Linked DNA regions of Homo sapiens: all the other regions are linked to region 2. The links are contacts of gene promoters, found by promoter capture Hi-C in blood cells and fetal thymus (Javierre and others, 2016). All regions are on one chromosome and are shown on one strand. The core of a region is centred on a gene start or on the middle of the fragment in contact, and the rest is flanking DNA. Distances in the headings are between cores, read along the strand shown. Region 1 overlaps CX3CR1 (C-X3-C motif chemokine receptor 1). Region 2 holds the start of GORASP1 (golgi reassembly stacking protein 1). Region 3 overlaps LOC102724104 (a long non-coding RNA gene). Region 4 has its middle 19 kb from the start of CCR8.

Region 1 (2,959 bases), core at 94-2,593, 160 kb after region 2:
CAGCACCCGGAAGCCCTCATCTTTGTTTTTTGAGAACCATTTCACCTCCTCTTCTCCTTATAATCAACAAGTCCTTCTCTTTCTTAGCAGGTATCAGACAGAGTCATACACTCTAGAGTGACTACCTTGTTTTGGGCTGCCCAGGACTTTCCTGGTTTTAGCCCTGAAAGTCCCATCTATTGGGAACCCCTCAGTCCCAGGCAAATCAGGACTGTTGGTCATCCTACAACGCTAAGTGAAGAGAAGGTGTTGCCATCATTCAGGACTCTGCAGTCATAGAGGGGCTGACTGATTCAAGATGGAGGATGGGGCTCCGTTAGTCTGCTGGGCTAGTCTCCGGGTGACTAATTCCCCCTACGATTACCAGCCCTATAGTTCACTTTGGTTTGGACTTCCCCACTATTCTTATCTCCTGTTTCCTTCTGAGCAGGAATTGAAAAAAGAAGACACTTCTGCAGGCTGCACTCCCCTTCTTTTCGCAGCCAGGACTTGCTGCTCATTCACTCCAGAGCCGGCTGGGAGGCAGCCCTTTCACACGGCTCCTCTGGGCGTCTCCTCGTGATACCACAGATGGGTCCCTCAGAAACCCTCAAAACAGGCCTCCTGGTTGTCACTGCCTCCCTCCTTACCACAACTTACAGCAAAGCTCACGCTTTAACCGAGGGAGTTTCCACGCCCCACTACACCCTTTCCATGATGGTTTTACCCAGGTGGTGTCTCACCAAGATGAGGGCCCACCCAGCCAGGGTGTGTCACTTCTCGCTTCCCAGCCTCTGCTTTGGGGCCTGCATCTCACCCAGACTCTCCTGGGATAAGTGGGCCGGGGCTTTACAACCTAAGCTGTCTCAGGCTGTGATGAGTTCTCAACCCCAGGGAACGTGTATGCTTTCTCTGCTTCAGGCTACAATGCCCTTTTCTCAGAGAATAATCTCTGGCTGTGACGTTAATTAATAACATTTAAGTCAAATGGTATAAAATGGCTGACATACAGCTATTTTTGAGCCACATCCATGTCAGTTTTATATGACTCAAGCTAATATGTGGGAAACAGAAATTGCTACTTAGTGCCTGCAGCTTGTCACAGAGCATGATCTTCCCAGACAAGCTGCTGTATGAGTAAAAATAGTCAAGTCCTTGGTGGTTCTATGTTAGGGACCCTGGAGCTAGCTACTTTCTCCCTCCCCTTCCCCCAGTGAGAAGAGCTGGCAAAGCCGACCTCGAGAGGTGGCCAAATCCAGTAAAAATTGTCTCGCATCTCTTTATGTGCCTGTGGTCGGTCCTTCAGCACAGGAACTTCTGTGGACTCGGGCACTCCCGAGATTGAATCCTGCATCTGTCCTCTCTGGCTGAGTGATGGGTGAGCTTGAAACCTCTGAGCCTAACATTCCTTGTCTGTAAGATCGGGATTCATTCTCATGCCTGCCCACAGAACTGTTTTAAGGGGAGCACCTGGCACAGTGTGTCACATACAGCAAGCACTTAATACATGTTCAATTTGTTTCCTGCATTATGTGAGGAAGCAAAAGCCCTTTGGATCTTTGGAAACATCCAGGCTGCCTGTGGACTCCCATGTTCCACCTCCACCCTGGGTATCCTGGGAATTTGGTCTTTAAAGGTCACTTTATTTTTTTTTCCCCCTGAAATAAGACATGCTTTCTTTTCAGATTATTTTGGGGGAGGTAAGCCACCCTTTATTGAGCTTTTACTAAACTGTCAGGCTCATTGCTCTGTTTGGATTAATATTGATCTAATCCGTTCTGCAATTCTGAAAAAAAAAAGTTCTATATTTAATTCACTGCACTGCTGAATGCCTCTGGGGATATTCATGATGAGAGGAAGGAATGGGACAAATGTGGAGAAGGAAGGGAAAGTTAGAAATAAGCAACTGATTGCCTGGTGGAGTGGCAGAGGGGTCCCAAATCAGGCCCTTTGCCTTACTGGGTGCTTGGGCTCAGGGCTGCCACGTGCACAGGGGCATCTCTAATTTGCACCAAGTCTCCATATAAGCTGGGGGTGGTCTGGCTTGGCAAGGAGCTCATGAAAAGATCAGTCAGGTACAGTCTAAGCCAGGAAGGGGCTTGTCTTCTCAATGGGGAAAATTCACATAAAGACTTTGATTAAGACAGAATGGAAGAAGTGGGTGAATGTATCTTCTGCAGATGGGATGCAAATTCAGATAATGCTCTGGGCAGGATGGTTTTGCCTGATACGTGGTGATATTATGTATTGAGAGCCAAATGGCTGGTTATGGGCATCCATCTGGCTTGGGACTGCTCCCTGCCATCCAGGGGGTCTGCTCAGTGAGGGCAGACGAACACTCTGCAGCCCTCATCCTAGCTCCCTGCTGTCTCAGAGTCCCCAGTGAAGACCCTAGAATTGCTGTGGCTCCCACAGGAGTCTCTCAGTGCTGGCACAGTGGGTGCATGCAGTGGGTGCTCACCCAGCATATCATGGTCCCTGCTATGAGCCATCTGGACCATGCTACAGAGGAAAGAGCAGTACCAATATCGCTTTCTATGAGTTCCCACGTGACTCTGAGGAACAGCACTGGTCATTGAGGGACATTTTTGATCTTCATGTTCACATTTCCATTTTGCACACACTGTGCCTCACAGGAGGCACAGCTGGGTGAAGCACCTGGCCCATCCCACAGCTAGAAGCAGGGGGAGCAGGACTGAGGCCAAGGCCTGTGCTGTTCCCACTCTCCCTTGAAGATGGAGGAGACTCGGGCCCTGGGCTTAGGGGCCAAATCCTGGCAGGGGAGAAGAGTCAAGGACTCGATGACTATCAAACAGTTGAGTCCCAAGTCCAGTGGTAAAAAGGCATCAAAACAACAGCCTTAGCTTCCTCCTCTAAAAAAATAACCTCTTAGGTTTGTTGAGAGCATAAGAATTAAATTACTTTAAATTGCTTATTGGGATTTATCGTAGACACACACATGCTCAAGCAAGTGTGTACA
Region 2 (2,795 bases), core at 246-2,745:
ACCATCATCCAAATGTCAGCTCCAGAACAGGGACCATGTTTGTTCTGTTCACTGCTTTATCTCTAGAGCCTTAGAATTCTGCCTGCCAGAGTAGGAGCTCAAAACTTTGTTTTTGTGACTGACAACCTCTGATCCCTGGTCCCTCTCCAATTTGTCCCTCTCCATCAGGCAGGCCCCTCCCGTCTTCGAAGCTCCCATCATCGCCCCACCCCTCCTCTTGCCAATATCCTGAGTTCCTTTGCCTTTAATCAAACCTGTTGGAAGACGCTCCTGGCTGGATGCATTCCACTGTCCACGCTTGCTGTTTGGTGTCTCACCATAAGAAAGCCCATTCCCAAGCACAAATCCTGTCAACTCTGGGTTCTCCAAGCCAGCCTGGTTTTCACGTTAAGAAACTTTTAGCCCTCTCATGTGGTTAGCTGGCAACAGACCCTACCTTCAAAACACACAAACCGACAAGCTTGCCTGTCTCCACTCATCTCTGCATCCAGCTGCCTTTCACTAGGGAAAGGGGGGGTGCAGGGACGCCTCTTCCCCGCAGCGCTCCGGGGTCAGAGACCCCCAGCCCCTCTCACCTACATTATAGCCCTTCCCTCACCGCAGGCACAAATCTCCATCCGGCTGCGGGACCCTCTCCTCACCCTCACAGCACACTCCGTTCTAGGAACCCCACTCCGTCTCCACTCTCCGGAAGCCTGCTCGCCCAGACCTCCATGTAGCGGCATCTAAAGGCTGGGACCCTCCCCAGCTGCAAACGCTCTCCTCGAGGATTCTGCAGCACTCTCCCGGCCCTCCCGCTCCCCACTATCCCGTGGCTGGTTTGCACCGGTCCTCTACCCTCGGAAGCCCTTACGACCCTACGACTGGCAGGACGCGCGCCGACGGGCTCCCCCGCAGCTGCGTCCACTCGGTTAACCCCGGCCCCCGGGACTGTCCTCGGCGTGGCTGACTCTCTTCCCAGGCCCAGCACGGAGAGCGGCCCGCGGCAGGCGAGCGTAAATGTGTGCTAAGTGCACGAGTGCGTCCCGACTGGTAGTGGTGCATTCTTCACCCGGGAGGAGCGCCATTCCCGGCGGCCGGACCAGGAAAACGCTCCGCTTCCGGCACTGCTGGCACTTGGGGCGGGCGCTGGGCCCGACCGCGGCCGCGGACTAGCCAGGGTCCGGGAGTCCCGCGAGGCCGCCTCTCCCAGGAGGCTCCCACCGGGCAGGGGGCACCTCCCGCCACCCAGGCGGAAACACTCGGGCCGGGACCCCGCCGCAGTCGCCAGCCAGCCGGCGACCGGACGCCCGGGCGCGGGGTTGCGGGCGCCTCGCCAAGGTCACCGGCGCCGCGGCGGCAACTCACCCCGTGGAGGTGGAAGCCCTCGGCGCCGCCTGCGGGCTGCTCAGCGCTGACGCCCAGGCCCATGGCAGCGGCTCCGCTCGGCACCCAGGTCCAGTCCCGCTGCGCCTACCCGGACCGACCCGACGCCAGTAGCACCGACTCGCTCTCTCGGCGCTCGATTCCTGCGCCTTGTGACGTGAGGCGTTTTGTTCCTCCCACTCCAGACACTGGACGCTCCTAGCAACCGGCTAGCAGCTCGGTTTCCAAGGACTGTAACGCCTTCAACCGCCCGCCGCGATAGAGTGCCCACGACCCTGCCTCGGGAATCCCGCTCTGCACCGCCCCACCAGACCCGGACTCGGAGCCGCGAGCGGCCCGAGATGAGCAGCAATGACTCCTCCCTTATGGTGCGTGGCCCGGGCGCTGTCCGAGGGCTCCCTCGTGACTCCCCGCCCCTGACCCAGAGACCGTCTGCCCTGCTACTCTCCTGCCACCCTTCGCTGTCCTCAGTTATATCAGGCGGTCCTGCCTTTTCTTGCCCCACTCCCCCTGGCAAGGGCGTCTTCTCCGGTGGCTTCTGCGCACCCTGAGCCCCAAATTAGCATCCCCGTTTCTTGAGCTACCCCAAACCAGCTCATCCAATCACTATCATTATCCCTTCTTGTCATCATCCCTTCTTCCACCCAGCTCACTCTCGCCTGCGCCTCCCACCCCAGTTGATGGCTTCACCATTTAATCTCCTAGCCTTAACTCATACCTCTTCCCTATACTCATCTTCTAATCCTGTCTACAAGAAATGCCAGCTCCTTGATGTCTCCTGGGTTTTCTTTTTATCTTTTTATCTTCTAGCCCAGAACCAGCACCATCTCTCCCCCCTGAGAGCCTGCAACAGCCTCCCTCCCATCTGGTTTCTCTGCTGTGGCTCTTTTCAGCATCAGTAGTCCCTGCTGCCACCACGGCACACACCCCCCACATGCAAAAGCAGCCAGAGTGGTTGTTGCAAAAATGTACATCTGAAAACATCCCTCGCCTTAAAACCATTCTGCTTTCTGTTACCCTTAGGATGGTGTCTGGGCTCTTTCATATGGCCCATGAGGATGTTTACAGTCCAACCACATCTGCTCCCAACCTAGCACCCACAAACCTTAGAGGAAGTGAAACTTAACTTTAAAATCTCAGCCCCTTTGTCAAGCTGTAGTTTCCATGGGCTTAAGCTTCCTTAGCTGTGAAAGATACTGAGAGGACCATGCACAGGATAGTGGATATGAAGCCCACAATAACTTGTAACTACAATTCGTATAATTTTTCTTATTATTTGTCCTCATTTTTCCCCCCTTATTCCCTTCCTAAGACAAAGCCTTGGTTGAATTCCCCATCATAGTTGAACCAGAATCTGTTGGTAATCCCCCAAACAAACACCTCCAAACTCTTTCCTGGGAAAACTGCATGGAGCTGCTCCCAGGGCTGTT
Region 3 (2,793 bases), core at 274-2,773, 140 kb after region 2:
AGCTGGGTGCTTTCAGCCTATGTGAGGCGTCGGCAACACCAAGCAGGCTGAAAGGGAAGGCTGCCATGATGTAAAAACACTCAGTAATACCCAGTGAAGATGAATTCTCTACCTTTCAGTTCCTAATTTTTAGTTTTGAATCTCAAGGAACGGACATTTCCAAATTAAAAACAGCTTCGTGGGCCGGGCGCAGTGGCTCACGCCTGTAATCCTAGCACTTTTGGAGGCCAAGACGGGCGGATCACGAGGTCAGGAGACCCAGACCATCCTGGCTAATACGGTGAAACCCTGTCTCTACTAAAAATACAAAAAAATTAGCCGGGCGTGGTGGTGGGCACCTGTAGTCCCAGCTACTCGGGAGGCTGAGGCAGGAGAATGGCGTGAACCCTGGAGGCGGAGCTTGCAGTGAGCCGAGATCGCGCCACTGCACTCCAGCCTGGGCCACAGAGTGAGACTCCCTCTCAAAAAAAAAAAAAAGAAAGAAAAGAAAGACAAAAACAAAAAACAAAAAACAGCTTCATGGAAAGAGTGTGGCTGGGTAGTAATGTGGTACTATGTTCAAATCCCAGCCTGGGCCACTTTCTACTGCTAGGACATACGTAACAATGATCACCCTCACCACTACCACAAACAGTGTGCGTGGAATTTGTGCCATGTGCCAGGTCCAGGTCTAAGAAGTTCTCAAATACTAATTCATTTAATTCTTACACTGTGAAGTTAGCCGTTATTATCACTCTCATTCTACAGAGGAAGAAACTGAGACCAAAAAGTGTGAAGAGCTTGCCCAATGTCTCACAGCTGGTGGGTGGAATGACTGGGATTTAAACCAGGCAGTGTCCTTGGGAGCTCCCACCTGTCACCACTGCACCATAGGCTCTTTCAGATGGACGTGGGCTGACTTTCCAGAACTGGAATCTTGTAACTTGGGCCTACTATTAAATTTCTGTCTGGATTCATCAGGCACCCAACTTAGCCATCATGGCCATGCCATCAGATGTGGCTTTTAAGGATAAGAGTTATGGTAAAGGCAACTGGCTGGTGGTTGGGTTTTGAGAAGAGGCCAGTCCATGGACATATTGATCTTTAATGCCCTCAAGCAAAGCATGTACATAGTTTACCAAGAGTGGTTACCCTTATGATTGGACCATTGCAGATGTGGTATCTGTAAGGGCAACTTTTGAAGGAATCAATCCCAGTCCACAAAATGAGAGATGCTTTATAAGGGATGAAATAAAGTTTCATTGAATTTAGTTCTGGGTGGCAGGTAGGTCTGCTAGCAAGTTCCGAAAGACCAGCCGTTTTCTTTGAGTTATATGCGCCTGAAACTCCTCCTCGTAAACATCTGAGGCTCACTCACACCTCAGTGATGAACTGCCACCCTCCTCCACTGAGAGCAGGAAGAGAGCACCCAGAGTGGATACCATGACAGCTCAGCCAAACAGGCTCTCTGCCAGGAGGGCTGAGGCAGGAACCCGTCACATAGACACTCTCCAGGAATGAACTCAGGAAAGATCATGCACTTGACTTGGTCAACCTGAAGTCATACCCTAAAACCTCTTTGTTAGCCTCTTGCAGGTAACAGCCACCACAATGGTGTGACCCGAATGATGCTGTGACTAATTTCTCAGACTTTCAGGACTGCCCTGTGGCTGGGTACCTATCACCAAAAGCCATAAAGGGCTGCAGACAACATTGCTAAGATTACTTTAGCACAATGCCTGTATTCAGCAGACACACACAGATGGTAGTTCCTTTCTTTGAGTCAGTTTGTGCTGGGATGCTGACATTTCCCCAGACGATGCCACCCTTTTGGGTGTGCATAATTTCCTAGACTGTCTCATCCTGGGCCATGTTCCTTGAATTAGAAATAGAAGGGAGGGGGTCAGGTCATCCTTCAGGGTGCACAGCTCCTCTCGTGTCCCATCAAGGGTAGCAGTGTCCCTGCTGGAATAGCCCCTCTTAGTCCTCTCCTCTTAGAGCCTCGGAAACTTAATTTCAGAATAAGACATGGCTTCTTCTATTCATTTTTAGAAAGGTGCTATTTGGATTTTGCACATAGCTGTGAAAGTAAAAACAGGATTTATAATGCTGGAGATTGAGGAAGAGTTTTGCAACTCAAACCTCAAAGGAGAAGTATTGGCTTCCTCAGCTTCCCCCTGACAAGGGAGATTAATGTCATTCCACTATGCTAGTGACTAGCCAGCAGAGGGAATTAAAATAGATCTTTGTTGTGCCGGGCAGGAGGAACAAATGTTGGAAGCTCCTAGAGCTGCTCTCTTCTCAGCTCTCTTCTCTGCTCTCTTCTCTCTTTAGGAGCTGACAGGTGAAGGCTGGATGCTGATTAGCAAGGGCTTCCTAGCCTCCTGTGGGAAGTAAGCCAGGGTGGAAGCTCAGGCACAGGTCCTCTAAGTAGGGGGGATGGCTGTGGTTCTGAGGGAGACTCCTGCTTGGCCCACACTTCCTGAAGGTTCAGTGTGGGGAAGCAGAGGCATATGGAGGCATCAGCCTCGGGCCTTCCCTCACTCACATTTAGGGCTGCACACGGTGCCCCACCCCACCCATCACCCACCCCCCCTGCCCAATGCCATTTCTCCCCTCCGCCTACCCCTCTGTGGCCTTTCCCCTTCCTGGAAGGGGACTGTGGCTGGAGGGCAGATCTGAGAGGAGACCTAAAAAGAAAGAAAATAGGAAGAAAACGAGGGGGAAAATAATAAAAACAGGAGGCTTATTGAAGGAGGGAGGAGCAGGGGAGAGTGGGAGCATGGGGAGCAGACAGTTTGTTCCAGCAGGCTG
Region 4 (2,907 bases), core at 390-2,889, 240 kb after region 2:
GCAGCTGGAGTCTGGAAGATGAGGCTGTAAAACCTAGATAATCAACTCCTGCACAGAGGGAGTGCTTTCTGGGTAATCGCCAAACTTCACATACATATGATGAGTCCCAGTAAAAAGAGTGGGTCTTAATGAGCACTTTCCTTTCCCTTTTTTGGGGTCAAACTAAGATAAGAAAGCTGGAAGCTTGCATGGGGGTGGGGGGATGCCTGCAGCTGCAAAGAGGTACCTAGGACCAGGCATGGAAATTCCCCTCCTCTTTTTAACTCATGCAGAGTGGGAAGGAGATACCCAGCATAGGAGGAGCCCAAGCTAAGAACCCACCTGCATGACAAAAGAGTGGGATGGGGGCTGCCAGAGATTCTGCTCTATGCAGATGGCACACCTGATCCCAACCAGTTTTTTGTGCTCTACATAGATAAGATACCCCCTCCCCACTAGCTCATTTATGAAACACCTTATGTTTTACTGCAGTATGGCAACCCATATGTGACTCCTCTCTGTAGCAGAGAGCTGTTCTTTTCCTTTCACCTATTAAATTTCTGCTCTAACCTCACCCTGCGTGTGTCTGTGTTCTTGATCTCCATGGCCATGAGACAAAGAATCTCGGGTGTTATCTCAGACAACGAGGCTGCTTCAGAAAGAGCTAGGGGAAAAGGCAGCTGACAGGAGCTTGTCCAGGAGCAGAATAAATATCAAACACTGACTTCAGAAACTATTCTTTCAAAGGAAATACAATTTCTTTGGTTTAGATTATAAAGCTATTTTTGCCCCAGGACATTGTTGAAAACAGTGGAGCAATCAGCAGGCAATTAGTGAAGATTTAACATCTAGGTGTGGTCAGAGAAAGAGAAGTGGCCTTTACCAATATCACTGTCATCCCAGGATAACTGTAGGCATACCCAAAACTGTCTTTCTGAGGAGCAATGTCAGAGGCTTCATTAGCACTGTGGGGGTTGGGGGAGAGTGTTTAAACTTTACTAGAATAATCCAGCCAGCCAATAAACTGATAAATAAACAAATAGCAATAGCAAGCTCTGGGGGTGGAGAAACTGGTACCCAGAATTGATATTACACATAATCTGAAAGGTCAAATTCCCAACAAAAAATAACAAGGTATACAAAGAAACAGTAAGGTATGATCATATACCAGATTAAAAAAAAAAAAAAAAAAAAAAACAGGCGGCTGGGCATGGTGGCTCATGCCTGTAATCCCAGCACTTTGGGAGGCCAAGGCAGGTGGATCACGAGGTCAGAAGATCAAGACCATCCTGGCTAACATGGTGAAACCCCATCTCTACTAAAAATACAAAAAATTAGCTGGGCATGGTGGCGGGCACCTGTAGTCCCAGCTACTCGGGAGGCTGAGGCAGGAGAATGGTGTGAACCCGGGAGGTGGAGCTTGCAGTGAGCCGAGATGGCACCACTGCACTCCAGCCTGGGTGACAGAGAGAGACTCCATCTCAAAAAAAAAAAAAAAAAAAAAAAAAAAAGCAGAGGTAATAGCTCTCACAAGAAGTCTCTGGCTAGCAAAAGACCAAAAGACAAATATTTACACAGATTCCAAATATATTTCTGCCACTTTGCGTGTTCATGAGGCTATTTACAAAGAGAAAAGACTTTTAACTGCTGAAAGTAAAAAAATAAAGTACAAGGAAGAAATTCTATGGCTCTTAAATGCTGTATAGGCCCCAAAAGAGGTGGCAGTGATGCACTGCAAAGGGCACCAAAAAGCAAGAACACTAAAGGCTAAAAAAATAGAAAGGCAGACAAAGAGGCAAAGCAGGCTGCAATGACAACTCCACCTTCTAAAAAGAAAGCCTTAGCTATGCCTCTCCTCCCAGAGATTCCCCTCCTGGAGATCCTGAGCTACTCCAAATGAAAGGGCTTAATTTGCCCAGAAAAATAAAAACTACATTGAAAAAGGATAGTAAAAATTCTCCAATGGGAGGCTAGCCATACCTGAAATGGTGGCCCCCAGATTTGTAAAAGAGTTCCACCAAGGAACTCACATGGAGAAAAACAGCACTAAAGACATTATTAAGGCATCACTTCTATATGCCATGGCTCACTGCCATTACTCAAGCCATTTGTAAACAAGCAGTGTTTAACTTGCACTCAGAACAATCCACGACAAAGGCCTACCTGGCCCCCGGGAGATCAGAAAACAAAAGCCATGCCCTGTGAAAAACTGCTTATGGACTTCACCGAATTGCCCTGAGAGGGAGGCTATCAGTACATGTTGGTGTTCATTTGCACCTTTTCAGGGTAGGTCATGGCCTTCCCCACCTGGACAGAGAAGGCACTAGAGGTAACCGAGGTGTTAAGAGACATTATTCCCAGATTTGGACTGCCTCTAACTCTAAGATCAGACAATGAACCAACACTTGTGGCTGAAATAGTTCAAGACTTAACTCGACTACTAAAAATAAAATGGAAATTACATACAACCTACAGGCCACAGAGCTCAGGTAAAGTGGGATGCATGAACTGAACACTCAAACAGCTGCTGAAGAAATTTTGTCAAGAAACTCATCTAAAGTAGGATCAGGTCTTGCCCATGGTCCTCCTCCAAGTCAGGTGCACCCCCACCAAACAAACTGGGTATTCGCCCTATGAGATTTTGTTCGGCCGGCCACCCCCCATCATAGGTCAGATTAAAGGTAATCTCTGTAAACTAAGAGAACTAACTTTAAAAAGGCAAATGCAGGCTTTAAGTATGGCCATGTAAAAGATGCATGGCTAGGTATGAAAAAGAATGCCTATAAGTCTAACAGACCCGGTACACCCTTTCAAAGCTAAGGACTTTGTTTAAGTTAAAAAATGGAATCCAACCACTCTAGAACCCATACAGGATAGGCCCCATATTGTAATCATGTCTACTCCCACTGCTGTTAAAGTTGCAGGTCT

The links. Contacts are between HindIII fragments. The CHiCAGO score rates a contact against its expected background, and 5 or more counts as called.
Region 1: a contact is called between a fragment that was not itself captured here and the fragment with the promoter of GORASP1 in region 2, in 12 of 17 cell types (total B cells, naive B cells, activated CD4 T cells and 9 more). The highest score is 13.2, in total B cells.
Region 3: a contact is called between a fragment that was not itself captured here and the fragment with the promoter of GORASP1 in region 2, in 5 of 17 cell types (total B cells, neutrophils, naive B cells and 2 more). The highest score is 9.9, in total B cells.
Region 4: a fragment that was not itself captured here is called in contact with the fragment with the promoter of GORASP1 in region 2 in 1 of 17 cell types (fetal thymus); the score reaches 5.4 in fetal thymus.

Annotation. Positions count from the first base shown.
Region 1 is chr3:39,267,387-39,270,345 of GRCh38, forward strand. All of the region lies in intron 1 of CX3CR1 (C-X3-C motif chemokine receptor 1), which reads right to left. Among named protein-coding and RNA genes, the nearest start is that of CX3CR1, 11 kb to the right of the region's middle. The HindIII fragment of the contact is 3,259 bases long and covers 1-2,959 here.
Region 2 is chr3:39,106,132-39,108,926 of GRCh38, forward strand. GORASP1 (golgi reassembly stacking protein 1) reads right to left here and starts at 1,496. Exons shown (of 9, transcript NM_031899.4): 1 at 1,348-1,496. The coding sequence starts at 1,410. It overlaps TTC21A (tetratricopeptide repeat domain 21A), which reads left to right and starts at 1,549. Exons shown (of 29, transcript NM_001366900.1): 1 at 1,549-1,733. The coding sequence starts at 1,707. RefSeq lists a silencer at 1,126-1,445. The HindIII fragment of the contact is 2,080 bases long and covers 459-2,538 here.
Region 3 is chr3:39,248,126-39,250,918 of GRCh38, forward strand. All of the region lies in intron 2 of LOC102724104 (a long non-coding RNA gene), which reads left to right. Among named protein-coding and RNA genes, the nearest start is that of CX3CR1, 31 kb to the right of the region's middle. The HindIII fragment of the contact is 9,853 bases long and covers 1-2,793 here.
Region 4 is chr3:39,347,191-39,350,097 of GRCh38, forward strand. No RefSeq gene overlaps it. Among named protein-coding and RNA genes, the nearest start is that of CCR8, 19 kb to the left of the region's middle. RefSeq lists a silencer at 232-442. The HindIII fragment of the contact is 2,916 bases long and covers 182-2,907 here.